7 separate regions of the Homo sapiens genome follow, and regions 1, 2, 3, 4, 5 and 7 are each linked to region 6. Evidence: promoter capture Hi-C in 16 types of primary human blood cells and fetal thymus (Javierre and others, 2016). All regions are on one chromosome and are shown on one strand. The core of a region is centred on a gene start or on the middle of the fragment in contact, and the rest is flanking DNA. Distances in the headings are between cores, read along the strand shown. Region 1 has its middle 7.2 kb from the start of LORICRIN. Region 2 has its middle 7.5 kb from the start of PRR9. Region 3 holds the start of SPRR2G (small proline rich protein 2G). Region 4 has its middle 24 kb from the start of LORICRIN. Region 5 overlaps LOC101928009 (a long non-coding RNA gene). Region 6 holds the start of LCE6A (late cornified envelope 6A). Region 7 has its middle 16 kb from the start of LORICRIN.

What was found. The method cuts DNA at HindIII sites, captures the fragments that hold promoters and counts their contacts. A CHiCAGO score of 5 or more calls a contact.
Region 1: a fragment that was not itself captured here is called in contact with the fragment with the promoter of LCE6A in region 6 in 4 of 17 cell types (M2 macrophages, megakaryocytes, M0 macrophages and 1 more); the score reaches 8.5 in M2 macrophages.
Region 2: a contact is called between a fragment that was not itself captured here and the fragment with the promoter of LCE6A in region 6, in 5 of 17 cell types (M0 macrophages, M2 macrophages, M1 macrophages and 2 more). The highest score is 9.1, in M0 macrophages.
Region 3: the fragment with the promoter of SPRR2G here is called in contact with the fragment with the promoter of LCE6A in region 6 in 5 of 17 cell types (M1 macrophages, M0 macrophages, M2 macrophages and 2 more); the score reaches 9.3 in M1 macrophages.
Region 4: a fragment that was not itself captured here is called in contact with the fragment with the promoter of LCE6A in region 6 in 1 of 17 cell types (M2 macrophages); the score reaches 6.6 in M2 macrophages.
Region 5: a fragment that was not itself captured here is called in contact with the fragment with the promoter of LCE6A in region 6 in 4 of 17 cell types (M2 macrophages, erythroblasts, M0 macrophages and 1 more); the score reaches 7.5 in M2 macrophages.
Region 7: a contact is called between a fragment that was not itself captured here and the fragment with the promoter of LCE6A in region 6, in 4 of 17 cell types (M2 macrophages, M0 macrophages, endothelial precursors and 1 more). The highest score is 6.8, in M2 macrophages.

Annotation. Positions count from the first base shown.
Region 1 is chr1:153,264,856-153,268,875 of GRCh38, reverse strand. No RefSeq gene overlaps it. Among named protein-coding and RNA genes, the nearest start is that of LORICRIN, 7.2 kb to the right of the region's middle. The HindIII fragment of the contact is 1,606 bases long and covers 1,440-3,045 here.
Region 2 is chr1:153,223,075-153,227,172 of GRCh38, reverse strand. It overlaps the pseudogene RPLP0P4. Among named protein-coding and RNA genes, the nearest start is that of PRR9, 7.5 kb to the right of the region's middle. The HindIII fragment of the contact is 8,208 bases long and covers 1-4,098 here.
Region 3 is chr1:153,149,069-153,153,068 of GRCh38, reverse strand. It overlaps SPRR2G (small proline rich protein 2G), which reads left to right and starts at 2,179. Exons shown (of 2, transcript NM_001014291.4): 1 at 2,179-2,217; 2 at 2,938-3,487. The coding sequence starts at 2,959. The coding sequence ends at 3,180. The HindIII fragment of the contact is 711 bases long and covers 1,529-2,239 here.
Region 4 is chr1:153,281,995-153,286,284 of GRCh38, reverse strand. No RefSeq gene overlaps it. Among named protein-coding and RNA genes, the nearest start is that of LORICRIN, 24 kb to the right of the region's middle. The HindIII fragment of the contact is 2,915 bases long and covers 415-3,329 here.
Region 5 is chr1:153,178,035-153,182,337 of GRCh38, reverse strand. The region is part of intron 2 of LOC101928009 (a long non-coding RNA gene); the gene reads right to left. It also overlaps a transcript of SPRR2G not described here. Among named protein-coding and RNA genes, the nearest start is that of LELP1, 23 kb to the left of the region's middle. The HindIII fragment of the contact is 461 bases long and covers 2,181-2,641 here.
Region 6 is chr1:152,840,466-152,844,427 of GRCh38, reverse strand. LCE6A (late cornified envelope 6A) reads right to left here and starts at 1,572. Exons shown (of 2, transcript NM_001128600.2): 1 at 1,417-1,572; 2 at 445-928. The coding sequence starts at 907. The coding sequence ends at 665. The HindIII fragment of the contact is 3,660 bases long and covers 157-3,816 here.
Region 7 is chr1:153,242,126-153,245,979 of GRCh38, reverse strand. No RefSeq gene overlaps it. Among named protein-coding and RNA genes, the nearest start is that of LORICRIN, 16 kb to the left of the region's middle. The HindIII fragment of the contact is 3,353 bases long and covers 640-3,854 here.

The DNA of each region.
Region 1 (4,020 bases), core at 993-3,492, 420 kb before region 6:
AGCTATCGAACTGAATCCCAAAGAAATATAAAATCTGAACAGATCAATAACTAGTAGGGAGATTAAATTAGTTATAAAAAGTCTTCCATCAAAGAAAATCCCAGGATCCAATGGCTTCACTGCTCAATTCTACCAAACATTTAAAGAACTAATATCAATCCTTTCCAAGCTCTTCCAAAAATGAAAGACAAGGGAATACTTTCAAACTCATTTTATGAGGCTAGAATTACCCTGAAATCAAAGTCAGATAGAACACTACAAGAAAAGAAAATTAGAACCCAATGTCCCTGATGAACACAGATGTAAAAATCTTCAACAAAGTTATTAGTACACTGAGTTAAAAAGGGCCGAGTGTGGTGGCTCACGCCTGTAATCCCAGCACTTTGGGAGGCCGAGGCGGGTGGATTGCCTGAGGTCAGGAATTCATGACCAGTCTGGCCAACATGGTGAAACCCTGTCTCTATTAAAAATACAAAAAAAAAAAAAAAAAAAAAAAAAAAAAAAAAAAAATTGCAGGGTGTGGTGGCGTGCACCTGTAATCCCAGCTACTAGGGAGGCTGAGGCAGGGGAATTGCTTGAACCAGGGAGGTGGAGGTTGCAGTGAGTCAAGATCACACCACTGCACTCCAGCCTGGGCAACGGAGTGAGATTCCATCTCAAAAAAAAAAAAAAAAAAAAAAAGCACATTGAAAGGATCATTCACTATGATGAAGTGGGACTTGTTTTGTGAATGAAAGGGTGGTTTAAAAATGCAAATCTATAAATGTGATGCACCACATGAACAGAATGAAGGACAAAAACCATATGAATCACTCCCAATAGATGTAGAAAAAACATTTGATGAAATTCAACATATTTTCTGATAAAAACTCTCAGAAGATCAGATATAGAAGGAATGTACCTCAGCACAATAAAGGTTATTGATGACAAACCCACAGCTAACATTACACTCAATGGCGAAAAGTTACCAGCTTTGCCTCTGACAAGGATGCTCACTTTTGCCACTTCTATTCAACATAGTACTAGATGTCTTGGCCAGTGCAATTATACAAGAGAAAGAAATAAAAGGCATCAAAATTGAAAAAACACATAGATTAAGGAAAGAGAATAAATCCACACATTTACAGTCAATCAGTTTTTGACAAATATGCTGAGAACGTGCAATGGGGAAAGGACAGTCTCTTCTATAATTGTTGGCACAGCTGGATATCCACATGTGGAAGAAGGAAATTAGACCCCTATCTTACATCATATGCAAAAATCAACTCAAAATTGATGAAAGACTTAAATGTAAGGCATGAAACTGTAAAACTACTGGAAGAAAACAGAAGAAAAGCTTCATGACACTGGTCTAGGCAATGATTTTTTGGATGTTGAACCCCAAAGCACAGACAACAAAAGCAAAATAGACAAATGGGCTTATATCAAACAAAAAAGCTTCTGTAGAGCCAAGGCAACAATCAACAGAGTGAAGAGACAACCTAAAGAATGGAGAAAATATTTTCAAACCATACATCTGGTAAGTGGTTAATATCCAAAATGTATAAGGAATTCAAACAACCCAATAGTAATTAAAAAAACCCAATTAAAAAATGGGCAAAGGATTTGAATATAAATTTCTCAAAAGAAGACATACAAATGATCAACGGGTATACAAAAATGTTCAAAATCATTAATCATCAGAGAAATGCAAATTTAAGTAACAATGACACATCAGCTCTGTCTTAGTTCATTTGTGCTGTTATAACAAAATACCTGAAACTGACTAATTTATCAAGAACACAAATTTATTTCTCATAGTTTTTGAGGCTGGGAATTTATTTATCGTAGTTTTGAGGCCAAGATCAAAGCACCAACAGGTTTGATTATTTGGTGAGGGCTGCTCCCTGCTTCTAAGATAGTTTCTGTTGCTGTATTCTCTGGAGAGGTAAAATGGTGGAAGGTGGAAGGGTAAGTGTGGAGAATGCTGTGGAAAGCCTTTTTATAAGTGCCTTAATCCCATTCCAGGGAGGAGCCCTCATGGCCTAATCACTTCTTAGAGTCCCTACCACTTAGTACTATCACATTTGCCATTAAGTTTCAACACCAGAATTTTGGAGGGGACATATTCAAACCATAGCAACCTCACACCTATTAGAACAGTTATCAAAAAATGATGAGACACAACAAGTGTTGGAGAGGATGTGGAAAAAAGGGAATCCCTGCACATTGTTGATGAGAGTATACATTAACACAGCATAGCATATGGAAAACACTATAGACATTCCTCAAAAAGTTAGAAATACAAGTACCATATGGTCCAGGTATCCTATTACTGGGTATATATCCAAAGAAAATAAATCAGTATGTTGAGGAGGTATCTGCACTCTTAATGTTCACTGAAGCACTATTCAGAATAGCCAATATATGTGAGCAACCTAGTGTATATGAAGAGATGAATGAGTAAAGAAAATACCTTAAAAAGAAGAAAATCCTGTTATTTGGGACAACACAAATGCAGCTGGAGGATATTATGTTAAGGGAAATAAGCCAGGTATGGAAAGACAAATACCACATGATCTCACTTGGATATGGAATCTAAAAAAGTTGAACTCATAGGAAAAGAGAGTAGAATGGTGGTTACCAGGAGCTGGAGGTGGGGAAGGGAAGCACTGGGGAGATGCTGGTCAAAGGACACAAAATTTCAGTTAGATAGGCAGAATAAGTTCAAGAAACCTATTTTACAATGTAGTGATTATGGTTAAAGACAATGAATTGTATTCTTGAAAATTGCTGAGAGAGTAGATTTTAGGTGTTCTCACCATAAAAAATTATAAGTGCGTGAGGTAATTCATATGTTAATTAGTTCCATTTAGCCATTCCACAATGTATACATTTTAAAACACGTTTTACACAAAAATATATATAATTTTTATCTTTTAATTAAAAATAAATTCTAAAAATGACACATGTAAGGTTATATTTATATAACCTTCAAAACCTAGCATAATTAATCTAATGGTATCTTCAAGGGAGCTAATGACTGGGAAGGGAATAAAGAAAGCTTCTGAGGTTCAGTTATTGGGATGAGTTCACTTGGTAAAAGTTAACTGAGCTGTCACTTATAATTTGTGCCCTTGTATATATGTATGCTATACTATAATAAAAATGTACACTCATTAGAAAAATTTTATTCTGATTTATCTATAGTGTTTTTGAGTGGATCTGTTTGTATGTATACAGATTTTTTAGTGGCTGCTGTGGGTATTGCATTGTATATGCATAATTTATCATCATCTATTGGTACGGACATTTTATTAAGTGAATTTGCAGACCTTACTTCCATTTAAGTCCCTTTACTTCTTGATTTCTGATATAACTGTCTTAAACATTTTCTATACATATGTTAATAGCCATATCAATGTTATGGTTATTGCTTCAACTATCAAACATAATTTTAAAAAACTCAGGAGGAAAAAGATACTGTCCTATAGTTTTAGACTTCACACTGTTCTTCCTTTATTCCTGATGTTCCACGTTGGTTTCTATCATTTCTTTTTTGTTTGAAAAACTTCCATTAGCCACATTTTTAGGATGGGTATGCTGGCATCACGTTTTCGTATTTTTCTTTCATATGAAACTATCTTTGTTTTACCTTCATCTCTGAAGGACATTTTCACTGGATACGGAATTCTAGGTTGACAGAATTCTTCTTCTTTAGCACTTGAAAGATGTGGTGACACTTTTTCCTGGCCTTCTTGGTTTCTGACAAGAAATCTGCTGTCATTCAAATAATAGTTCCCCTATAGATGATATGTCAGTTTTCTCTACTTTCAAGATTTGCTTTCAAAATTTTCTTCTTCAAGATTTTTTCTTTGTCTTTAGCTTTCAGATGTTTGATTATGGTATTTCTTATTGTGGATTTCTTTGGGATTATCCTGTTTGAGTTTCACTCATCTTCTTGAATTTGTAGGTTAATTACTTTCACCAAATTTGGGTAATTCTGAGCCATTATTTCTACAATTTTTCAGGATCACACCC
Region 2 (4,098 bases), core at 1,088-3,587, 380 kb before region 6:
AGTTTTGCCATCCTAGTGATGGGGAACACTCCTCTTGAAATCTCTAGCTACTTTTAATGAAATCCAAACTATTTACTATAGAATTGGCTTCACTATCATGTAAATCTATGTTAATAGTAACTATCTGCTAATAGTAATAATCATATTAACCCTTCACATTTTACAAATTACTAAATACTTCCACAAATACCTCATTCGATCCTGAGGACAGCCATCTAGGATGGGTGGGTGATCATCAGTGCAATTTTACAGATGCAGAAACTGAGGCTGGGAGATTTGCCAAAGATCATGCAGCATTTACGTAATCCAGGACTTCATTATAAAAAATCTCCAGAAGAGCTGATTGTTCACTGAGGGTGCATAAAACTATTCATTGGGAGCAGAAAGAAAAAATTTGAATTTTTTCTTTATGTATTTTTATCTTTTCTTTTAAAATTGTCTGTATTTTGTGTTTGTCTTTTAACTTTCATGATGTTAGAATGACAGTACATATCTATTGCTTCTAAATAATATGTATGTATTATATGATGAACCCCAATAGAACTTTCAACTCTTTATTAAAATATGCATTCAGAAAAGTGCATATATTGTAAATGTCCACCTCAATGAATTTTCACAAACTGAACACAACCAGATAAGCAGCCCCCAGATAAAAAAATAGAATGTTACCAGCAACACAGAAACCTTCCTTCTTCTCCCATCCAATGACCACGCTACTACAACCAACACACACACAACCACGTTCTTACTGTCTACAACAGAGATTTATTTGGCCAGCTTTTGTACTGTACATAAATGATATAAATGGAACTATACAGCGTGTTTTATGTTGAACCCTATGAACAGTTTTTGACCTCCATAAATGGCAATTTCATATGTTTCATCCTAATGCTTTTTTATGTGTCTTTTTTTTGGCCACTTACTTTATGTTTGTGAGATTCATCCTTATTGCTGTGTGTAGCTGTAGATCATTTGTATACATTGCTGTATGGAATTCCATTGTCTGAATATACCACCGTTTATTTATTCATTGATGGGTATTTGTATTCTTTCTGATACTTGGATATTATGAATAACACTAGAATAAACATTTTTTTTTGAAAGAAGTAAGCCTTCATTTCTTTGTTTTGCAAATAAAGCTGGCTGAGTTGGTTGCCTTTTGGTGATTAGTCAAATAGGCCAAATCCCATATTCTCATCCAACTCCTCCAACTCTTCTTGGCTTCAGCCTTGGCTGGAGCTGCAGCAGGAGCAGCAGTGGTGGCAGTGGCCCCAGGGGCAGCAGCCACAAAGGCAGATGGATCGGCCAAGAAGGCCTTGACCTTTTCAGCAAGTGGGAAGGTGCAATCAGTTTCCACAGACAAAGCCAGGACTTGCTTGTACCCATTGATGGTAGAATGAGGTACTGATGCAACAGTTGGGTAACCAATCTGCAGGCAAACACTGGCAACATTGCGGACACCCTCCAGGAGGTGAGAATGCAGTTTCCTATGTGATGTCAAGCACTTCAGGGTTGTAGATACTGCTACTGTCAAACAGCTGCTGGATAATCATCCCAAAGGAGAAGGGAGAGATGTTCATTCAGCATGTTCAGCAGTGTGGCTTCACTGGCTCCCACTTTGTCACCAGTCTTGATCAGCTGCACATCACTCAGGATTTCAGTGGTGATGCTTAAAGCCTGGAAAAAGGAGGTCTTCTTAGGCTCCAGACCGGTGTTCTGGCCTGGGACAGTGACTTCACATGGGGCAATGGCACCAGCATGGGTGGCAGCTGGCACCTTACTATTCAGCAGCATGTCCCTGAACTTAGTGAGGTCTTCCTTGGTGAACGCAAAGCCCACATTTCCCTGGATATGAGGCAACAGTTTTTCCAGAGCTGGGTTGTTTTCCAGGTGCCCTTGGATGGCCTTGCACATCATGGTGTTCTTGCCCATTGGCACCATGGCTTTCCCTCAGAGGGACATGTGGATCTGCTGCATCTACTTGGAGCCCACATTGCTGCTTCTACAATGAAACATTTCAGATAATGATTGAAAAATTGGATGATCTGAAGGAAGTAGTTGGACTTCCAGGTTGCCCTGTATTCCCTGGGCAGCCTGGCAGTGTGTCAGGGGTTGCCATGCAGGGTTTAAAGGTGATGCCACTTTCACAAGGATGCCTGATGAGAGCTAGAATGAACATTCTAATGTTTGAGTTTTGGTGACCGTATGCGGGGCAGATGCCTAGGAGAGGAATTGTTCAGTCATTGGCTGTGTATACATTCTACTTTAGTCATGACCGTCAAAGAGTTTTCCAAAGTGGTTGTACCAATTTGCACTCCCACAACCTCACCCACACTGTGATTCTGTCTTCTTACTTTTATCCCCTCCAGTCGGTGTGTTGTGGTATCTCTTTGAGGTTTTCATTTGCATTTCTCTGATGAATAATGAGAGGTTGAACACCGTTTTTATATGTTTATTGGTGAGGCTGAAATATTTTTATTACCAGGATGTGCAACATAAAAACTTTTAGGACTTGGGAATTGTAGGATATTTTCTCTAATTGCTTAGACTAGTTTTTTCTTAGACCATTGTAAGGAAAAGGAAGTTCCATCTTCTGGTGCTGGGACAGAAAAGGGGAGCATATGAAAGGGAGGTGAGGACCTCCGCTTTTCATCTTTGCCAGAGTCTGCTCCGGGTTTGACAAGAAGCGTGTTCTGTACCCAACAGCCAGTTTTCTCCTGCCTTGCTGTGATGTTCCCCAACCCTGGGGCGGACATCCCTTCAGGGACTGGCTGACAAAGGCTATTTTACTGTATTCAGAGAGAAGCAAAATCTTGTGGTAACCTATAAGCAATTCAAGTGCAAGAGTAGGTGATAATTAAAGATTAAAAGCATTGCATCCACACTTCCTATAATCTCAGCTACTTATTTGGTCTCTGCTTGCATATTTCATGGATGGTGGGATCACTACTTCATGAGCAGCTCATTTCATTTGCTGGGCCATTTTATTCCTGATATGAGCAGAATCTGCTTTTCTGTGCCCAGAACTCACTGATCCATGCTATTCTCCTTGGGATCACAAAGAATATATCCACTGCCTCTCTCTTTGACATTTGACAGGCCTGAAGACAGCCACTGTGTGTCTCTAAGTCTCCTCATCTCTGGATGAAACGCCCCCTTCCTTCAGCCACAGCTCATGTGACAAGGTGCCCAGAGACCTCGCTCTTTTTCTCACATTAATTTGGATGAACTAAAAGTTGGCCAGGGTCTACCTTCAAATGCAGCATCCGAGTTAAGGCTCCAGGGGCAGTCTGACCTGCAGTACTCCCTGTACCTGCTGTTCTCTTTGCGCTGATACTTACCCCGATCCCACATGGATGGCTCCTCCTATTGTTCATGTCGCTACTCCGACATCCCCATCTCAGATCGGCCTTTCCACGCTACCCGAGCTAAAGAGCACCCCTCTTCTCTGGTCTCTCCTCACCACTTTGTTTCATTTTCTTCATTTTCACTTTCTTATTTATGCATTTGCTGAGTTGCTTTTTGTCTGTCTTCCTTCTCATGTGAGCTCTGGGAGGCAGGGATTCTGTGTATCTGGTTCGCTGCTGTAACTCCAGTGCTTGGCTCATAGGAGATTCTGTGTCACTTACTCTCACATAGGAGAAATTTGTTTTAAGGGAACAATAGAAGTGGTGGAGTCTAGATTTGAATTCCAGAAGTCTGATTCCTGAGCCTATGTCCTGAACCATTATTCGTGTTGCTCCCACCCTATAAATAGTGTAACTCTGTCTTGCACATATAGCCTTCCTCTGACTCTGTTAGATGCTGCATCTCTGTACTCTTGTCTTCTCCACATGGAGCACTGACGGCCGGAGTGTGTGCGGCCATCTCCAACTCAGGCCAGACTGGGTGTGATTAGTAGAAGGCCAAGTGCCTCTATGGCCAGCAGGTGGTGCTGTTGGGAAGAGAAGAGAAACGGTCCCCAGCGGCTTCTAAAGGAGGAAAGACAGGTTATGAGGCTGGCTTGGGAACCGGGTGATGAGGGAGGTTGAGTTGAGAAGGCCCTGCCAGCTGGCCACTTATTTTCTTTCAACCATTTTCAGATGTGAGGCAGGTGTC
Region 3 (4,000 bases), core at 930-3,429, 310 kb before region 6:
GTTTCAGAGGTTTAATTTGCACAGAGTGCTTCAAGTGCCCATTATTTGTGAAAAATGAGGATCATCTGTCCTTTAGCTATTTTCTCTCTCTATAAAAAAACTGTCCTTTGTGAAGCTGGCAAACCTCATTAAGCATTCTTTTCTGAAAAGCCCAATCCTCCTTCAGTTTATCAAGCATAAATGATAAACCAAATAATTTATTGGTAAAAATAACTTTGGAATCTATTAGTAATTCATGAGGCAAAGAAAAGTAGGTCTAAAATTGTGTTGATAGAACTGTTTTAAGTCACGTAATCCTTAGCTAATTCTTCAGCATGCATCAGCTATGGTTCCTAGGATTTCAACATGAGAAAGAACGCTGTGAAAGTGCCTCACCCATCCCAGGAGCATCCCTGTTCCTTCTGGCATCCCTGAAGTGTGTCAGTTTCCTGATAGTAACTTAGATGACTAAATTGTTTAGTTTCAGAGTACTAGGGAGGGATAACTAGCCTCATGTTGTTCCTCTGAGATGCTGAGAAAGAATTTAATAGTAGGGCTCAACTCAAAGACGTTCCTACCTCTTCAAATTCCCATGTTAGGTCCTCAGTTTTTTTTGTTTCTCTACTGTACCAACCCAATCAAGTTTGAAACATTGCAGATACAACACAGCATTCTTCTGGGTAAAGAGCACAAGGCAAAAATCTTCCCTGAGAGGGGCTTTCTCAGGAAAACAAGGTGCCGACCCTGTAGGTGCTATGGTACCCATGCCGTCTAATTAGTAGTGACTACAGCTAGAAGAATGGGGGATGCAGGGAAAGGATCTTCACTAGATAGGCCTCACTCTAAACAATGCCATTCTTTATTATCTGTTTTTGACATGTTTGAAATTATTGGTTAGTTATGATTAGTTATTATTCTTATTTCTTCTACATTTTAGAGTTTATATTTCTTAGAAGACCCACTATGTAATGTGCATAATTTTAGGCCACTCTTTGAGTTTTTGTAGGAGACTTTTGTGGTAGGTGTATTTTTTATTTCTGTTTTACAGCTGTGTAAACTGTGTTTCAAGGAGGTTAGGAAATATTTAGTTCCACACAGTAGTGGTGGCTGTAGATGTATGCATAACCAAGGTACTCAAGTTTTTTCCAAGTTGGGACAGTGAGTAATACTAGCTGAAGTGTTAATATGGTTAAATAAGCTATACTAAGAAATTATCCGTGGGATCTGTGCCAGCTATACTTTACTTATTTAGGTAAAAACATCCATGAAGTAAACAGCAGGATAAATAGCTTTACAGAACTTCACTCCTCGAATGTGCAAAGAAAGCCTGAAATCCTACTAAATGTCATTTCAAAAGAGAGAAATTGTGAAGGAGTAAATTGAATTAGCATGTAGGAGAAAAGCTTCAAAATGGATGCAGCACATACATTAAGGCAGTTTGGAAGAAAATGGGAGAAGATGAGTTTGGATTTCTAGTAGACCACAAGTCACTCATAGTTACAAGGGCCACAGAGATGAGGTTAGTGTGTAAATCTGCAAATGTGAAGCTTTAAGAAGGGGCCCCAACATGACTCTAATGGCCTAGAAAACTGAGAGATGATGTTGCCTTGTTCAAGCCCATTAATACCATGTCAGAACACACCCAGGTTGGGGCTGTCAGCATCTAGGAAGCTGATATATGATTTTGTCACCCTGTTCAAGTCAATTAATTGTCAAGAAAAGCCTAAGGATCAATAGGCCATGATAAAAGGGGAAGTTAGTTGTAAAGAAAAACTGCAGTTGAGGGTTAGGATATAGCCAGGCTGCAGGATCAGCACATACTGGTCTCTACTAAAGAGAACACAGCTAGATACTGGGCATGTGCAACTGAATGGGAGTAGTTTTACATACAGGATACTTTGGAAGCTGGGAAGTAGGAGAAGCACCATCTCTAATTATAGGGAAGCACCACAATTGTCAGACAATTTGTCACGTTCTACAATTGCCACTGGCATGAGGAACCTGAGATAATGTCCCAAGTGAATCACTGTGCACTTATCCTGCTGGGGAGGATCATGGACTAGGAATTTTGTGATACCAGCATGGATTACATGCAAGTGGTATTTTGGTTGGGAAATAAGCACATCATGCTAGTCCTGGGCTGTTCCCTGTGTAGGGCTGCCTGCCCCTTATAAAAGGACTCTCCACCACACTGATGCTATCTTCTTGCCATTCAGTTGTAGATCTTTGAAGACTCTGGTGAGTACAAATATTAGAAGCTTTTCTTGCACTTGGATGGTGTTAGGGTCTAACCTGGGTACAGAAATGCCTGTTTATTTTAACCAATTTATCCTCATGGATAGGAAAAAGAAGATAATGAGGTCTTGAAGGTAAATTTTAGCTGGTATTTGGTAGATAAACATGAAGGTGATGAGGAACCTGGAGTCAAATATATAAAATCTTAAACTGAAGGAGAGTGAGAGACACAAGATGCTGTTCTGTCTCCTGCTTCACATCTGTTCCAAATACATCTCTCTTGGAGTGCAATCTCCTTGGGTGATGGGTGCAAGTTTTTGCAATTCTCTTAAAAAACTCATGGCTCAGCACCACAGCCAGCTCATTAAAACTGGTAACTAGGGCCTCATGGAAGATAAGAGCACAGATTTGTTTGGTATTGGCTAGACTTTTAATATCTGAGTTTTTCTTCTTCAGATAGTGTTTGTATTCAGACAACATTTGTTGCTGTCTCATAGGCAATTTTATTTTCAGAAAATGGTAGAATGAGAGAACAGCCAGAAAGACGGAAGAACTGAGGGTAAGAGGTCCTAAAAGTGAAGTGTGAAGAAGGTTCACAAAGTCATAAAGACTGTATTAGGGATCAAAGTTGGTCCCTAGATACTGGAGATTTGATGTCCTAGCTAATTGCTCCACCAACAGGACTGTCTCTCTTATGAGCACTGTTTCGTATGTATCTTTCAGATTCTCTGAGACTGAGGAGAGATGTCTTACCAGCAGCAGCAGTGCAAGCAGCCCTGCCAGCCACCTCCTGTGTGCCCCACGCCAAAGTGCCCAGAGCCATGTCCACCCCCGAAGTGCCCTGAGCCTTACCTGCCTCCTCCTTGTCCACCTGAGCATTGCCCACCTCCACCATGCCAGGATAAATGCCCTCCTGTGCAACCATACCCACCCTGCCAGCAGAAGTATCCACCCAAGAGCAAGTAACATCACTAGAATTCATCAGGACCATGAAACAACAAGATCCAGTGGCTCTTCTTACTCCCAGGACTCCATCATCTTCCCTTCAGCTGTAGTGGGAGGCTGCATCTTCCCTAACCTCTGTCTGGCTTGAGCGTTGACAGAGAAAAGGCTTAGTTCTGAAAACCGATATGTTGTTGGAAGATGAGCAGCCAGATCACTGCCTAATCTCGCTTTGCTGTCTGTGATGTAGATGGTGGTTCCTATCCTGAGAGCAAGTGTGTTTATTCTTTTGCTTCTCCCCAATAAAGCACATGTTTCATGGTCAAGCCCACATTGCTTTTGTTTGCATTTCGTGTCTTTAACCTCTTCTGTTAACTACACCAAGTGAATGTTCCTTTTCATTCCTATTGAATTATTAGAATTATTAGGCTTTTCCATCACTGAATTCAGTGTTGCGTGCAATGTGTGTTTTGGATTCGGTACAACAAATAATTCTCTTTTATTGGTTTAAAACTCATTTTTACCCCTTCTAGCTTGTATGGCTGAAAAAATTACCTAAACTCTCTTAGCTTCAGTTTCATCATCTGTAAAAAGTAAGAGAGCATGTATTCAGCTGAGTGTACTCATAGCAATTGATTTATTCACAAATGTTTCCTAATTGTCTATCATGTGCCAGCCAGTCTTCTATGCACTGCTGATAGGGATAATGATGACCAAACAAAGTCCTTGCTCTTATAGAGTCTACAGTCTTAAGAGAGTTACATATCACCCCCACCCCCCGACCCCCACACACCTCCCACACACAGGACAAATTATAGTAATACATGGGCTATATTTAAAGAAA
Region 4 (4,290 bases), core at 623-3,122, 440 kb before region 6:
TTCTTTCTTCTTGTCTTTTCATTGTTTTCCTTAAGGGCTCCTTTCCCTCCCCCATCATGAGGATCCTCTCCATTTGCTTTCCCTGAGTGATGTCACCAGGTATTTTGTCATCATGTCTTCTTAGGCTCCTCCTGGCTGTGACAGCTTCTGGGACATCCTTTGTTTTTGATGACTTTGACAATGTTGAGGATTACTGGTCAGGCATTTTGTAAAATGTCCCTCAATTGGGATTTGTCTAATTTTTCTCATGATGAGAATGGGGTTATGGGATTTTGGGAGAAAGAGTGCAGAGATAGCAATGAGCACACCTAGTAGCCAGATCTTGGTTTCTAGTACCATTCTCTAAGAAATAAACCAAAGCTTCTTGGAGAAATGGCTGACTCTAGGATTGGGAAGAAATATACAATATAAGCTTGGAACCTCTTATAGTACCAGTAAGTAAGGCACTACTCAAAAATAGTAATAGTAAAATGGTGGGGTAAATAAAAAAATATGAGAGCCAACTGAAAGAGTTCTTAACAGCTAAAATCAAACAATTTGAACAAGAACATAAATGAATTAGTATTGGATTATAACCTAGAGCATAAAATAAACATCCATGACTCCATACCAACATAAACAAATAATTGAATAAATAAATAAATGGAAGAGAAGAGAAAAAAGTATTGCAAATAATTTATGTAGATCCTCTGTCCTGAAGAAAGTAGAACGTAACTCCCCACTCCTTAAGTATGGATTGCACATGTGACTTCCGTCCAAAGAGTGCCATGTGCAAAGGGGGAATAAAAGTAACTTTACAGTGGAGAAACCTGACTAATGCTACATTGCCAGATGATCAAGGTCAACCCAATAGTGATGTCATGGTGATAGTGTGTACCCTTTGATATGATGTGATGAAAATGGCACCACCTTTAGTCAATGGCACAAATGTTATAAATATTTGCTTGCACATTTTTGTGGACCTAAGTTCTCAAATCAGTTGGGTAGATTCTTAGAAGTATGATTACTGGATCATGTGCTAAGACTAGGTTTAACTTTGTAAAAAACTTCCAAACTATCTCCCCAAAGAGCTATACCATTTTGTATTCACTAGTAACAAATGATAGTTCCTGTTGCTCCGCATCCTTAGCAGCATTTGGTATTATCAGCTTTCTGGATCCTGACCATTCTCATAGATGTATAATAATATCTCATTGTTATTTTAATTTGCAATTCCCTAATGACAAATTATATTTAGCATCTTTTCATATGTTTATTTGCCATCTGCATTTCTTATTTGGTGAGATGTCTGCTTAAATGTTTTGTCTGTTTCGTAATTAAGTTGTTTGTTTTTTTATTGTTGAGTGTTAAAAGATCTTTGCATATTTTGGATATAAGTGCTTTATTAGATTGTGTTTTACAAATATTTTTCCCAGTCTATGGCTTGTCTCTTCATTCTCTTAACGTTACCACGTACAGAGCAGAAGTTATTAATTTTAATGAAGTCCAATTTATTAACTTTTCTTTCATGAATTGTGCTTTTGGTGTTGTATTTCAGAACTCATTATCATACCCAAGGTTACCTAGATTTCCTCCTATGTTTTCTTCTAGACGCTGTATAGTTTTACATTTTACATTTACGTCTATGATCATTTGTGTTCATTTTTGTGAAAGGCGTAAAGTCTATGTCTAGGTTCAGTTTTTTCAAATAGGTCACCCAATGATTTTAGCACAATTTCTTAAAATGACTCCTTTTCCTTGTTCCTTTGTTAAAGGTAAGTTCACTAAGGCCCAGTGGGCTCTCCATTGATATATATGTCTATTCTTTCACCAATACCACACAGTATTTATTATTATAGCTTTATAGTAAGTCTTGAAATCAGGTGATGTGAGTCTTCGAACTTTGTTTGTCTCCTGCAGTACTGTGTTATTCTAGGTCTTTTGCCTTTCCATATAAATTTTAGTATCATTCTGTCAAGATCTGTAAAATACCTTGCTAGGATTTTGATTGGGATTGCGTTAAATCTATAGGTTAATTTGGGTGAGTTGACATCTTAACAGTACTGTGTCTTCTAATCTCTGAACACAGAATATATCTCTCCATTTATTTAGATTTTCTTTATTTCATCAGACTTTTGTAGTTTTCTGCATATAAATCCTGTACCTCTTTAGTTCAATTTTTATTTATTTATTTACTTTTTTTTTGTAGAGGTGGGGTCTCACTATGTTGCCCAGGCTGATCTGAAACTCCTGGGCTCAAGCGATCCTCCAGCCTTGACATCCCAAAGTGCTGGGATTATAGGTGTGAGCCACCACACCCAGCCTTTAGTTAGATTTGTACCTAAGTATTTTATTGTTTTTGGTACTATTGTAAATTGTATTATTCGAATTTTCACATTTCAACTGTTCATTACTGGTATATAGGAGAGCAATTGACTTTTGTTTGTTGTACTTATTAGTTCCAGGTATTGTTTTGATCAGTTCTTTGGGATTTTCTTCATAGACAATCCTATAATTTGTGAACAGAGGCAGTTCTATTTCTTCCTTTCCAATCTGTACCTCTGTGTTTCTGAGGCTGTCATTGGTGGCTCACATTATACTCTTATTGGGCATGGCTGATCTAGACAGTCCCATAGCTGAGACGTGTGATTGGTGATTGGCATGGCTGTGGAGAGCAAAAGGGTTTCTGTGAAAAAAAGCCAGCCTGCTTCATTTATCTGAGCATTCTGAAGGAGTAAATATGCAAATGTGACTTGTTGGGACTTTGAAACACATTTTGACAGCATTCTGTATCGCACTGGGGAAAACTGTTTTCTTATTTGCAGGGGTTTGTTCTAAGTACAGAAATAAAAGCTCTTCTGCAAAGAGAAGTGTAAAAAGGGACATTTCTGAGAGGTCAGCCCTAGACTGGCAGAATTTCAATGTTTTCATTAAAATTTTTTCCTGGGGCCAGGCATGGTGGCTTCCGCCTGTAATCCCAGCACTTTTGGAGGCCGAGGTGGGTGGATCACCTGAGGTCAGGAGTTTGAGATCAGCCTGACCAATATGGTGAAACCCTGTCTCTACCAAAAATATAAAAAAATTAGCTGGGCCTGGTGGCATGCGCCTGTAGTCCCAGCTACTTGGGAGGCTGAGACAGGAGAATCACTTGAATCCGGGAGGCAGAGGTTGCTGTGAGCTGAGTTTGCCCCACTGCACTCCAGCCTGGGCGACAGAGCGAGACAATGTCTCAAAAAAAAAAAAAAAAATGTTGTCTTGGGGGTAGTTGAGTCCCATCAAGGGGGTGACAAGTCAGATAAGTTTTTTCTTAATTTGATTGATCATTGCAGTTGTGTTACAAAATCTAAGCTTGCAGATTATACTAAGCTTTCCTTGACAGAGAAAATCCAAGCCAACAGGAAGCGCTGCGGGGAGAGCATGCTGCTTCTGGTTTGAATCTTGTCTCTGCACAGATAGGCTCAAAATAAAGGGACAGAGGAAGCTCTACCAAGCAAATGGAAAACAAAAAAAGGCAGGGGTTGCAATCCTAGTCTCTGATAGAACAGACTTTAAACCAACAAAGATCAAAAGAGACAAAGAAGGCCATTACATAATGATAAAGGGATCAATTCAACAAGAAGAGCTAACTATCCTAAATATACATGCACCCAATACAGGAGCACCCAGATTCATAAAGCAAGTCCTTAGAGACCTACAAAGAGACTTAGACTCCCACACAACAATAATGGGAGACTTAAACACCCCACTGTCAACATTAGACAAACCAACGGGACAGAAAGTTAACAAGGATATCCAGGAACTGAACTCAGCTCTGCACCAAGTGGACCTAATAGACATCTACAGAACTCTCCACCCCAAATCAACAGAATATACATTCTTTTCAGCACCACACCACACCTATTCCAAATTGACCACATAGTTGGAAGTAAAGCACTCCTCAGCAAATGTAAAAGAACAGAAATTATAACAAACTGTCTCTCAGACCACAGTGCAATCAAACTAGAACTCAGGATTCAGAAACTCACTCAAAACCGCTCAACTACATGGAAACTGAACAACCCGCTCCTGAATGACTACTGGGTACATAACGAAATGAAGGCAGAAATGAAGATGTTCTTTGAAACCAACGAGAACAAAGACACAACATACCAGAATCTCTGGAACATATTCAAAGCAGTGTGTAGAGGGAAATTTATAGCACCAAATGCCCACAAGAAAAAGCAGGAAAGATCTAAAATTGACACCCTAATATCACAATTAAAAGAACTAGAGAAGCAAGAGCAGACACATTCAAAAGCTAGCAGAAGGCAA
Region 5 (4,303 bases), core at 1,162-3,661, 340 kb before region 6:
TAATAAAAAAATTCTTAAAATATAAGTATTATATTTTGGGTATGCAGGAACTCAAACAACAGCAAAAAACCAAACAATCCTGTTAAAAAGTGGGCAAAGGATCTAAACAGACATTTCTAAAAAGAAGATATACAAATGGCCAACAAGTATATGAAAAATTGCTCAACATCACTAATCCTCAGGGCAATGCAAACTAAAACCACAGTGAGATATCCTCTCACTCCAGCAAGAATGGCTATGATCAAAAAGATGAAGAATAACAGATGCTTGAGAGGATGCAGAGAATTCTCATACACCATTGGTGGGTATGCAAATTAATACAGCCATTATGGGTAACAGTATGGAGATTTCTGAAATAACTAAAAATAGAACTACCATGTGATCCTGCAATCCCACTACTAAGTATTTATTTGAAGGAAAGAAAATCAGTATATCAAAAGGATATACACATCCTAATGTTTACTGCAGCACTATCACAATAGCAAAGATATGGAATCAACCTAAGAGTCCATCAACAGATGAATGCACAAAGAAAATATTATATATATATATATAATGGAATACCACTCAGCCATAAAAATAAGGAAATCATATTATTTGCAGCAAAATGGATGAAACTGGATGGAGGTCATTATGTTAAATAGAATATGCCAGACACAGAAAGACAATGATCACCTGTTCCATCATATGTGGGAGCTAAAAATGGTGATTTCATGAAGGTAGAGAATAGAATGATAGTTACCAGAGGCTGGGAAAGGCGTGTATGTGCATGGGGTTGTGGGGGATAAAGAGAGGTTGGTTAATGGGTACAAACATATAGTTAAATAGAATAAACAAGTTCTAATGACTGATATTAGAGTGAGCTGACTATAGTTAATGAGAATGTGTTGTATCTTTCAAAATATCTGGAAGTGAGGAACTGAAATGTACTCACCACAGATAAACGATAAATGCTCACGGTGATGGATATTCTAAATACTGTGACTTGATCATTATACATTCTATGTGTGTAGCAAAATGTCACATGTACCCCATAAATATGTATATTATGTACCCATAGAAAATAAAAATATATTACACAACCAAAAACAAACAAACAAAATTCTAAACTCTGGGAGAATGTCTTCAGATCTTGTCAATAGGAAAGATTCCTTAATCAGGTAATAAAAAGCATACCAATAAGGTGGAAAAATGACAAATTGGATTTCATTAAAATTAAAAATTTCTGATTATCAAAAACACCACCAAGATTGCAAAATGCCAAGCCACAGAGATGGAGAAGCTGTATGTAATATCTATATTTAACAAAGGGCTTGTTCCCAGAACATATATACACATGTGTTCCTACTCACAGATCAACAAAAAAACAAGAAATGAGCAAATAGAAAAATATCTGAACAACCTGAACAGGCAATTCATGAAAGGGCATTTCTGTATTTCCAATAAACATATAATAAAGAGTTTAATCTCACCATTCATAAGAGAAATGCAAATTCAAGTCACAACGTGTTATCTCCACATAGCCACCGAAATGGCTAACACGAAAAAAGATAGACAATACCAAGTTTAGACAGAGTGTGGAGCAATTGAAACTTTCACACACTGCTGATGGGAATAATAGATGGTAGAAAGAATTTGGAAAAGTTAACAGTATTCACTAGAGCTGAGCATATCCCTATCCTCTGACCCAGTCATTATATTTTCCTAGGTATGTACCTAACAGAAGTGTGTACATATAGTCACAAAAGGACAAATACGTAAATATTCACATTAGCACTATTTTTAAAAATTCCAAATTGGAAACTACTAAAATACCTTTTAGCAATAAAATGGATGCATAAATGGTAGTATATTCTCATAGAGAAATACCATACAGCAATGAGAATCAACGATCTATATCTACAAACCAGAAAATGAATCAGTATCACAAACACAATTTTGGGGAAAAAAAATCCAGGCACCAAAGAGTTCATACTGTATGATTCCCTTTATATACAGTTCAGAACATGAAGAACAAATGTACAGTGTTAGATGCCAGGAAAAAGTTAATGTTTGGGGGCTGGTAGTGACTCGGACTGCTTTTGAGAACCTGCTTCCCAGGTGGACTGCTTCTGAGATGCTGGTAACATGTTATTTCTTCATTTGTGCATTGGTTGCATGGTTGTTTAGCTTATGAAGCTTTATTAAGTTGTATACCTGTACTTGGTGAGCTTTTATTAATTTATACTTCAATTTTAGTCAGTTAAAAGGTTACTTTAAAGGGAAGGAAGCCACCAGAATGCCAATATTCCTGCAACTTAGTGAACAAGGAAAGAAAGATATGATGAAGTCAGCATAAGAGTCAGTGCCACAGCATGAAGTGCTTTGTAGGACAGTAAGGTCTTCAGACTTTTCTCTAGATACAATGGCAAGATATTTGATCATTTCAATTAGGGAGGACATAATCTTCTCTATATTTTATATGATTGCTGTGGTTGTTCTGATATGGGATTGCTGTGGCACAAGATAGGAATACGGAGACAAGATAGAAATCAGGACACAAGATAGGAAACTTCTGCAGTGGTTCAGGTGAGGGTGATGGTGGCTCTAATTAGGGTAAGAACATTGAAGATAATGAGAAGATGAGAAGTGATAATAAGCTTAAGGCAGAACTTGGGATCTAGGAAGAAGTAGTATGTGGGAGGTGAGGAAAAGAGGAATAAGAGATGAATCCTAGGTCTTAAAAATTATTATTATGACTACTATCATTATTTCAAACATTATTATCCTTATTTAGTTTGTGGCATGAGTACCTTCACACACACGATGATATTGTATATTTAAAAATGAAACCATTTCACAAATGATAGGCGTGACATTGTTATATTTAAAATGAGTGGATATTATAAACAACTTCATATTGAATTCTACAACTTAGATGAAAAGCACAAATTCCTTGAAAATAAAAAACTAACACATAAATGAAAACTTGACAGCCCTGTGATGGTCTTTTGACGTGTCAGCTTGGCTGCATGACAGTCCCTAGTTACTCAATCAAATACTAATCTAGGTGTTGCTGTGAAGGTAGATGTGATTAAAGTCCATTATGAATTGACTCTAAGTAAGGGAGAAAATCCTAGTTTATACAGGCTGGTCTGATTCAATCAGTTGAAAGGCTTTAAAAGCCAAGCTAAATCTTCCCTGAAGAAATTATATGTGTGGATTACAGCTTCAGCCTATGACAGAGTTCCAGCTTACCCTCTTGATGTCCTGACTTCTGGATTTTAGACTTGCCTAGCTGCCTTTGCAATCACATAAATTGAGTCCTTGTAGTAAATCTCTGAAGTACATTTCCAACTGGTTCTGTTCCTCTCATTGTACCCTGACTGAGACAATCTCTAAAATTATTACAGAAATAAAACCCATAGTTTAAAACCTTCCCATATAGAATGCCCCAGGTCCAAAAGGATTAACTGGTGAATTATACCACACACTTAAGAAATAAAAATTTCAATCATACATAATTTCTTTCATAAAACAGAGAAAGAGGGAATATTCACCAAGTCTTTTTCAGGTTAACGTAGCCCTGATATTGAAACTTGACAAGGACATTAAATGAAAAGAAAGTTACAGATCGTTATTCCTCAGGAGCATAGAAGCAAAAATCCTTAAGAAAATATCAGTAAATTGAGTCTAGCAATATATTAAGAGGATTTGTCACAGAATGCAAGGTTTATTTAATATTATAAATGTAATTCACCAAATTAACTGAATAAAGGAAGAAATTATATCATCTGAATAGATGTAGAGAAAGCATTTGACAAAATTCAACATGCATTGAGGATAAAACTCTTGCAAACTAGGAATAGAAAGAAATTTTCTCTATGCGATGAAGGTCATCTATGAAAAGCCTTGGCTAACATTATATTAATTGTGAAATATTTTTCCCCTAATATCAGAAACAAGGCAAGTATATCCCAATTTACTACTTCTATTCTAACATTTCCTGGAAGTTCCAGCCAGTGCAATAAGGTAAGAAAAATAAGTACAAGCATGGATTGGAAAGAAGAAGCACAAATGTCTTTACTCACAAATGGCATAATTGCCCATGCAGAAATTCCTAAGAAACTTATAGAAATATGTATTGGAACTAATATGGAACTTTATCAAGGCCACAGAATACAAGGTCAATATATAGAAATCAATTATATTTCTATAAACCATCACCACACAATTGGAAATAAAATTTAGAAATAACTTTATGACAGCATAAAAGATAAAATGTTAGTAATATATTTAACAAAAATTTGTAAGTCTGCTACAC
Region 6 (3,962 bases), core at 323-2,822:
TCTTTGACCTAAGGTACTTTTTAAATTTCTGCTTTAAGTTCTTTTGAACACAAATGAGAGATAAAAATGAGTAAATTAATCAGCTTAAAATGATATTTACTAATCCACTTGTTTCTATCTGAAGTGTCCATTGCATCTCCTACTGGATTATAAGCTTTCTAGAGCAGGGACAAATTTCCCACTTACATCTGTAAACACAGAGGCCAGTACACAGTAGGTGCTCAACATATGTTTATTGTAGTCTTTGGTGCTAGAATCATGCAATGACATGGGTTGATGGCTGTGAGGCTGCTGGAAACTGGGACATAAATCCCAGAACATCTGCTTCTTAAAAATACTATCAGCTGTCTTAAGAGGAAGGAGGAGAAGCACCATGCACTTGGGTTGAAGCGGGGGTCTCAGTACATCTGAGCAGGGGTCTCAAGAACTCACAGAAGTCAGGGCTCCAAGTAAAGCAGCTTTATTGTTGCTGAGCTGAAGGGGTGAATGGAAGAGAGCAGTAGCAGCGTGGCTCAGCCTAGTTCTCGCTTCTCTAGAGCTGGGGATCAGGAAGTGTTTCTCAGTCCAAATGAGAGGTTGAGGGCCTGGCTTTCCAAGGGGGAATTAGTACCCAAAGGTGGGGCAGGGAGAGAGTAACTGCACCTGTGCCTCAACTCTTCTGGGCTCAGTCGCCTTCACACTCTTCCTCTTTGCAGTGGTAGGTTGTGCCCCTACTTAGGCAGCGCAGCTTTTGACGAGCCCTCCTAGGCTTCTGAACCTCAGGCCTTTGGGAACTGGAATGACAACCTTCTGAATGGGGAGCACCACAAGGAGTCGAGTAGGGAGCTAGGCAGGGGTTTGATCTTTGGGGAGGGGAGCATTTGGGAACATTTGGAGGCTTCCAAGATTGCTGCTTCTGCTGTGACATTGCTTGGCTACCAGGTCGAATCTGGAAGAAAAATAGTTATATCAGGGACCCAGGCAGCTTGGGCTTCTGTTTCTCTCCTCCACAAACTGGAGCTGTCAAAAATGAAGTCCAGCATTTACAACCCACTGAACTCCATCTCAGGAGGAGAAAAACGGACTTGAAAGGACTAAATATTTGGGAGTAAATCTTCCCAGGGGACTCACTTACTAATAACCATGTTAATGATATATGCTTCCTTAAAAAAAAAAAAAGACAAATTGTACTTAGTTGAGCTGACAGTTTACTTTTCCCAGCCCAATGTCCACCTGGTTAAGTGCAAAGGAGAGCCAAGTCTCTGCTCTTTCTTTACTCTGTCTTATTCTGTCCCCAGACTCCTAAGTCTGACTGTCCCATCTCTGCTTTTCTGGCCCTCTAACTTCTATGGCTTTCTCCCATGTTAGATTATTTGGGGTCTTTCTTTTGCAGGGATCCACTTCTCTTCCCTTCTTTCTACCCCAAGCATCTCCTACCTGGCTTTTCAGCTCCCTGGGAAGAGACGAGAGGAGAGATCAGGACTGCCTAAGCAGCACTTGAGCTACATCCAAGTGTCTCCTCAGCCAGAAGTAGCCTTACCCTAGTGGAAGATGTGTGGACAAGTTATCCCAGGAGGAGTCTGGAGGCCTTGTGTTGCCAGGAAGTAAGAGGCTCTTTTATATATCCTCCAGTTGAAGCCTCCAGGCCACATGTCATTGGAGGAGAGCCATGGAGTGGATGATTGATCTGGGTATTTCACAATTCCCAGTGCTAGATTCCTCAGCTACATGTAGCTGGGATGTGGTTCAAAGGCATCTGCAGGTGCGTGAGTGAGCAGAAGGCTGGGGCCTTCAGATTGGCCTACGCAGAAGTGGGTACACTGGCTAATCTGGATGATGTCCTTGGGAGGCTGGGCGGGTTGCAGCTGCTGTTGAATTCTATGTAGGATTGGAGGGAAAAATCAGGTTCGACATCACCCAGGGTCTGAGGAAGACCTTCCTTGTCTACTCCCCACCCATCATCCATGACTGTCAGCATCCCATTCCGTGTCATCACCTCTGTGGAGATTGGCCCATTGCTCTAGCCACACATGAGTCCTTCATCCTCTGACCTTTATAGATACATGTCACAGCCTTTACTATTGCTTTGGGTCGTGTGACCAAGATACATATCCTATCTCACCTATTAAACTGTTATTTGATGACAGTGCCTTTATCACTTCTGCATTCCTAGAGCCTGATGTTGTTCCTGACACAAAGAAAATACTCATTAGTATTTGTTGAATGAAACAGTCTATGTGCCATTAGAAAAGACTTTGTGTTTCAGGAGAAAAAAACAGGAATAAAATAAAGCCCAACTCATTTTGTTTTGTGGACGAGACCTTGACTTCTTGTTTCCATCATTCTCCCCTAAGGCATTTGTGAACACCCTTTCATAAATACTACAGGGAACTCTGTGGGTGGACCTCACCTTACACAATAGGCTGAGCAGAGGGTGGGAAGCAAAACCTTCACACACCTGCTGTCTCTTAAATGCAAAAGGGGAGCTGTTCTTGGAATTATCAAGGGACATTGTGGAAAAGCCTTCCACAGAGTGAAAAGTTCTTCTTTAGCTTTCATGAAAATTGAGATAATCATGTTTTGGCAGTGCTTAAATTGGGAACATTCTCTAAACACAGTCCCTCACCTCTGGATGCTTCCATCTCAGAATCGCTCCTGGTGTGCCCAGCTAAGTTAAAAGGCACTGATGAAACTCCCTGCTGCTCAAGAGTGTGCCTCACCTGCCTCTGTATTTCTGATGCCTGACACACAGTAGGTATTCAGGAAACAGTTGGGTAAATAAAAAGATGAGCAATTACAAGGAACATTCTGACTGTAGGGGCAGTCCTCAAAGGCCTTCAAATCATGTATAGGACAAAGGTGAGTAGGGTTGGGGTATGGGAGAGGGTATGAAGACCAGGGTGGAAAATAGGACAAGGCCAGAAAAGGAGCAGCTATTGGATCCCAAAATCCAGCAGGGCAGGATCATCAGGTTTCAATTGCTTCATCTGGGAAAACTTTGAGATGCAGTTTGGATGGAGGAAGAGAAGATCTTTGTGAGTGAAACAGCAGGTGGAAGAATGGTATGAAACCTCGCTCACTCTGTTAGAGCAGAGCCCTGGAGAGAGAGTGCCTGATTTAGACAGCCTCAGGGATAGACCCCATCTTCCTTTACTTCCTTTTCCCTTTTCTCTCTCCTTCTCTTTCTCCTCTTTTCTTCCCTCAGACACCAGAAATAACTCTGATGGTGCCTCAGAAGTGCTTCCCTTGCACTAAGCATTAGCAGGAAGGCAAAGTAACACTGGTCTCAATGCACCAGTTGCTCCTTTTCCCCACCCAAGACCTGCACCACTTAAACACATGCTTCAGAGACCTCACACATCACAAATGCATTTTTTTGAAGTTAACTAGCAAGTACCCAACCCTTACTGTCTCTGCCTAGGGCTGAGGGTTCTTTCTGGAGGCTCTGCCCTAGGCAAACTACACTTCCTGCCCCTTCTATATCTCTCCCAGACCACCTCCCATAATAAATTGCCCACAGAAATCTCTTAGCCCCCTCCTTTTCAGTACAGTGAATTTCATCACATATAGGATGGAGTGTGTCCAGCATCTAGATTTGCCTAGCTCATTAAGTGAGCCTGTTTGAGGCCCCTGAGCTGCACTGTCTTCCAGATAAACTTAAAAGTCCAGCCAGTTTTAAATCAGGACCACAGAAATGTAATGTTCTTATTCTAATCCCACTCCACTTCTCTTCCTGGTTCAGATTGTGTCTATAATTATGTGATTTGATATTTATTAAGTCCCAACTATGTACTGGATACAAGAAAGAATAAGATGTCTATATTATGTTTCAAAGCTTTCACTCTCCAGAGGGAATACAGACAAATTAATAGGTAACACAAGCTTGTAAGTGAAAAATCGGCAAATAGGCAAACTGTAGTTGTAGCTTGAGAATACAACTAGTCCTCTTAAATGTACCAAATTAGAAAGGTAGTGTCTCAAGT
Region 7 (3,854 bases), core at 1,067-3,566, 400 kb before region 6:
TGCTGGAATGAGTTTCAGAAATGCCACTGGCTTTCAGGGATGCCATGGTTATTGTGATTACTGTGTTTGGACAGGCTGCTGTAGGCACAGTGATTTGTTTTTCTTTAAAATAGATTGTTTTCTGATTCCTGGGCCTAATTGCTCACCTTGCTGTCCATGGTAGAACAGGCCAAGTGTACTTCAGCAGGCTCAGTGTCTGTGGGAGTGTTGGGCAGGTGTGGCTGGTGGGGCCTTCTACCACCACTGGAATGCAGCCTCACACTCCCACTTGGTGACCTCCCGACATGGAAGTAGCAATTAGTAGGGCCAGCTCTGACAGGTCTGGCCACGGCTTATCCAGGGTGGGCGAAGAGAGACTCCAGGATACTGCCTTGGTGCACTTGTCTTACTCTCTTTCCACTTTTCTTGCTTTCCGATGCACACAGGAAATTGTCATCATGGCAAACCCCAAATGGAGTAGACATGGAGGGCTGAGATCTAGAAAAAGCTGCTGTGGCTGGGAAGGAGCACATGAGGTCCTATAGGCCCCATAGCTTGGGTAGTGACATTCTATTTACTGTCCTCATCTTAGTCTACTTTCCATGTAACTTTTCTCCACTTTTTCTGACAAATGGCGGCAGCAAAAATGGGGAAGAAGCTTTGGTCTCAGTATCCAGGTATCAGACCTAGATCTAGAGCTGCTTTTGTCTTTTCACCTGCTTGAACTAAACACCTCTGTTTTCATCATCACCAACCTGTTTTCATCATCACCATGGTCACCATGTCTATCTTGCCATTACTTTCAGTTCTGTGCCAAATGCCTAACACTTTATTGTTATCATCTGCCCCGTAATCGTCACCACCATCCCCACCACTAACACTGTTGCCTCTGCTCACTCTTACCACCATCACCACCACCACCTCCACCAGCTGCACCAACTTCATCACCTTCACCAGTATCGCCATCGCCATCACAATCACAAGGACTGCCACTTTGATCTTCACTTATTCCCACCGTCGCTGCCACTTTCACCACCTCCCCCATCTCCATTGCTACCACCACTATCACATCCACTACCTTTTGCACCATCACTACCATTGTCATCACTGCCATGTCAACGTGCTGCGCTGTGTTGTAGGCACAGTGGTTTGTTTTTCTTTAAAATAGATTGTTTTCTTATTCCTTTGTGACCTCCACCACCATCACCACTACCAGTGTCATCATCACCATCACCACGACTACTGTCATGGCACTGGCACTCATTCTGATTGTCATTAATACTACCACCTTTACCACCGTCACCCACCACCACCTTCACCAACACCACTATCACCCACCATCACCACCACCTCCACCACCTGCACCACCATCACCTTCACTACCACCACCATCGCCCACCTCCACCACCACTAGCCTCACCTCTACCACCACCACCATCAGGTACCACCAACACCACCACTGCCACCATCTCTACCACTACCACCATCACCCATCACCATGATCATAACTTCCACTATCACCCACAGCTACCCCACCACCTCCACCACCACCACTACCACCACCTCTACCTTCATAACCTCCACCACCACGACCCCCACCTCCACCACCATCACCTCCACTACCACCACCATCACCCACCTCCACCACCATCACCCACCACCACCCACCACCACCACTATCCTCACCTTTCACCACCTTCACCAACATGTACTACCAGCACTACCACTGCCATCACCTCCACTGCCTCCATCATCACCACTACCACCTCTATTACCTGCATCACCACTACCTCCACCACCTCCATTTCTACCACCATCACCACCACCACCAACACCTCTACCACCTCCACCACCATTATCACCACCACCACCATCATCTACCACCTTCACCACCACCACTTCTACCACCATCACCACCACCACCAACACCTCTACCACCTCCACCACCATTATCACCACCACCACCATCATCCACCACCTTCACCACCACCACTTCTACCACCATCACCACCACCACCAACACCTCTACCACCTCCACTACAATTATCACCACCACCACCATCATCCACCACCTTCACCACCACCACTTCTACCACCATCACCACCACCACCAACACCTCTACCACCTCCACTACAATTATCACCACCACCACCATCATCCACCACCTTCACCACCACCACTTCTACCACCATCACCACCACCACCAACACCTCTACCACCTCCACTACAATTATCACCACCACCACCATCATCCACCACCTTCACCACCACCACTTCTACTACCATCACCACCACCACCAACACCTCTACCACCTCCACCACCATTATCACCACCACCACCATCATCCACCACCTTCACCACCACCACTTCTACTACCATCACCACCACCACCAACACCTCTACCACCTCCACCACCATTATCACCACCACCACCATCATCCACCACCTTCACCACCACCACTTCTACTACCATCACCACCACCACCAACACCTCTACCACCTCCACCACCATTATCACCACCACCACCATCATCCACCACCTTCACCACCACCACTTCTACTACCATCACCACCACCACCAACACCTGTACCACCTCCACTACAATTATCACCACCACCAACATCCACCACCTTCACCACCACCACTTCTACCACCATCACCACCACCACCACCACCACCTCCACCACCTACACCACCATTACCACCACCATTACCACCACCACCACCATCACCACCACCATCACCAGCACCAATCTATCACATTGCTACCTTGATTCATTCTCATCATCACCACCACTGCTACAGCCACTATCATCACCATTACCACTAGTTCTTATCAGCACCACCACAACTAGGATGATGGTGGTGGTGGTGGTGATGGTGGTGGTGGAAATGATGGTAGTGGAGGTGGCAGAGGCGGTGGTGGTGGCGGTGATGGTGGTAGAAGTGGAAGTAGGAGGAGAGAAGACAGGGATAAATAGCCATCTTCACATTATTAAAGGCTTTCAGAAGAATAGTGAAAGTTATTTTATGTGAATAAAGAAGTTAGAGTTAGAAAAACAGAACTTATACAGAATTATAATTACACTGGGTAAATGTAAGCAATGTCTTATGGAACTAGGAGAGACCAGAGGATTAAGAAGTTTGAGGGTAAAAGATACTGAGTTTAATTGGGAGCATGTTGAGTTTCTCTGGTAACCAACCAGCTGGGGTGGTTTTCCTGTCCAATCCCTCACTGATGCTTGAATCCCTCCCTGAAGAGTTCCTCAAGAGTAGAAATCTAAGCTAATGCTTTTTATGTTAGGGAACTCATTTAATCCTGAAGTAGGTGATTCCTTCTGACTATTTTTATTTTATAAATTTTAAGTCATTCTATAATACTGGAACACATTTTGTTTTAAAATTTAAGACGTTATATGTCAAGATGAAATTATTCCTGGTCATCACTGCCAATCCTTGTTCCTTTAGCACCTTCACATGGGCAACCAATGTTGTAAATTGGTTTGATTGTTAAAATAGATCATTTTCTCACCTTTATGTACATATTTAGAAACAACATGGTACTGTGTTGTGTGTATATTTTACCTGAATAGTATTATATATTTTGTGTGTCTTTCTGCTGCTTGCTTTTTTCCCCACTCAGCAATAAATTAGCATGAAGGGTAAGAGGATGGAGCCTGGGGCCACACTGCCTGGACTCAGATCATAGCTTTGTCACTTGCTAGTTGCATGATACAAATTATTTAAACCCTCCAGCCGCAGTTTCTCTGCTTTATAAATTGGGATTGTGGTATACCTATAGCCACAGGGTCTTGTGAGGATTAGATGAGTAAATTTAGGTAAGAACTTAGAACCCTGCCTTGCTCACGCTG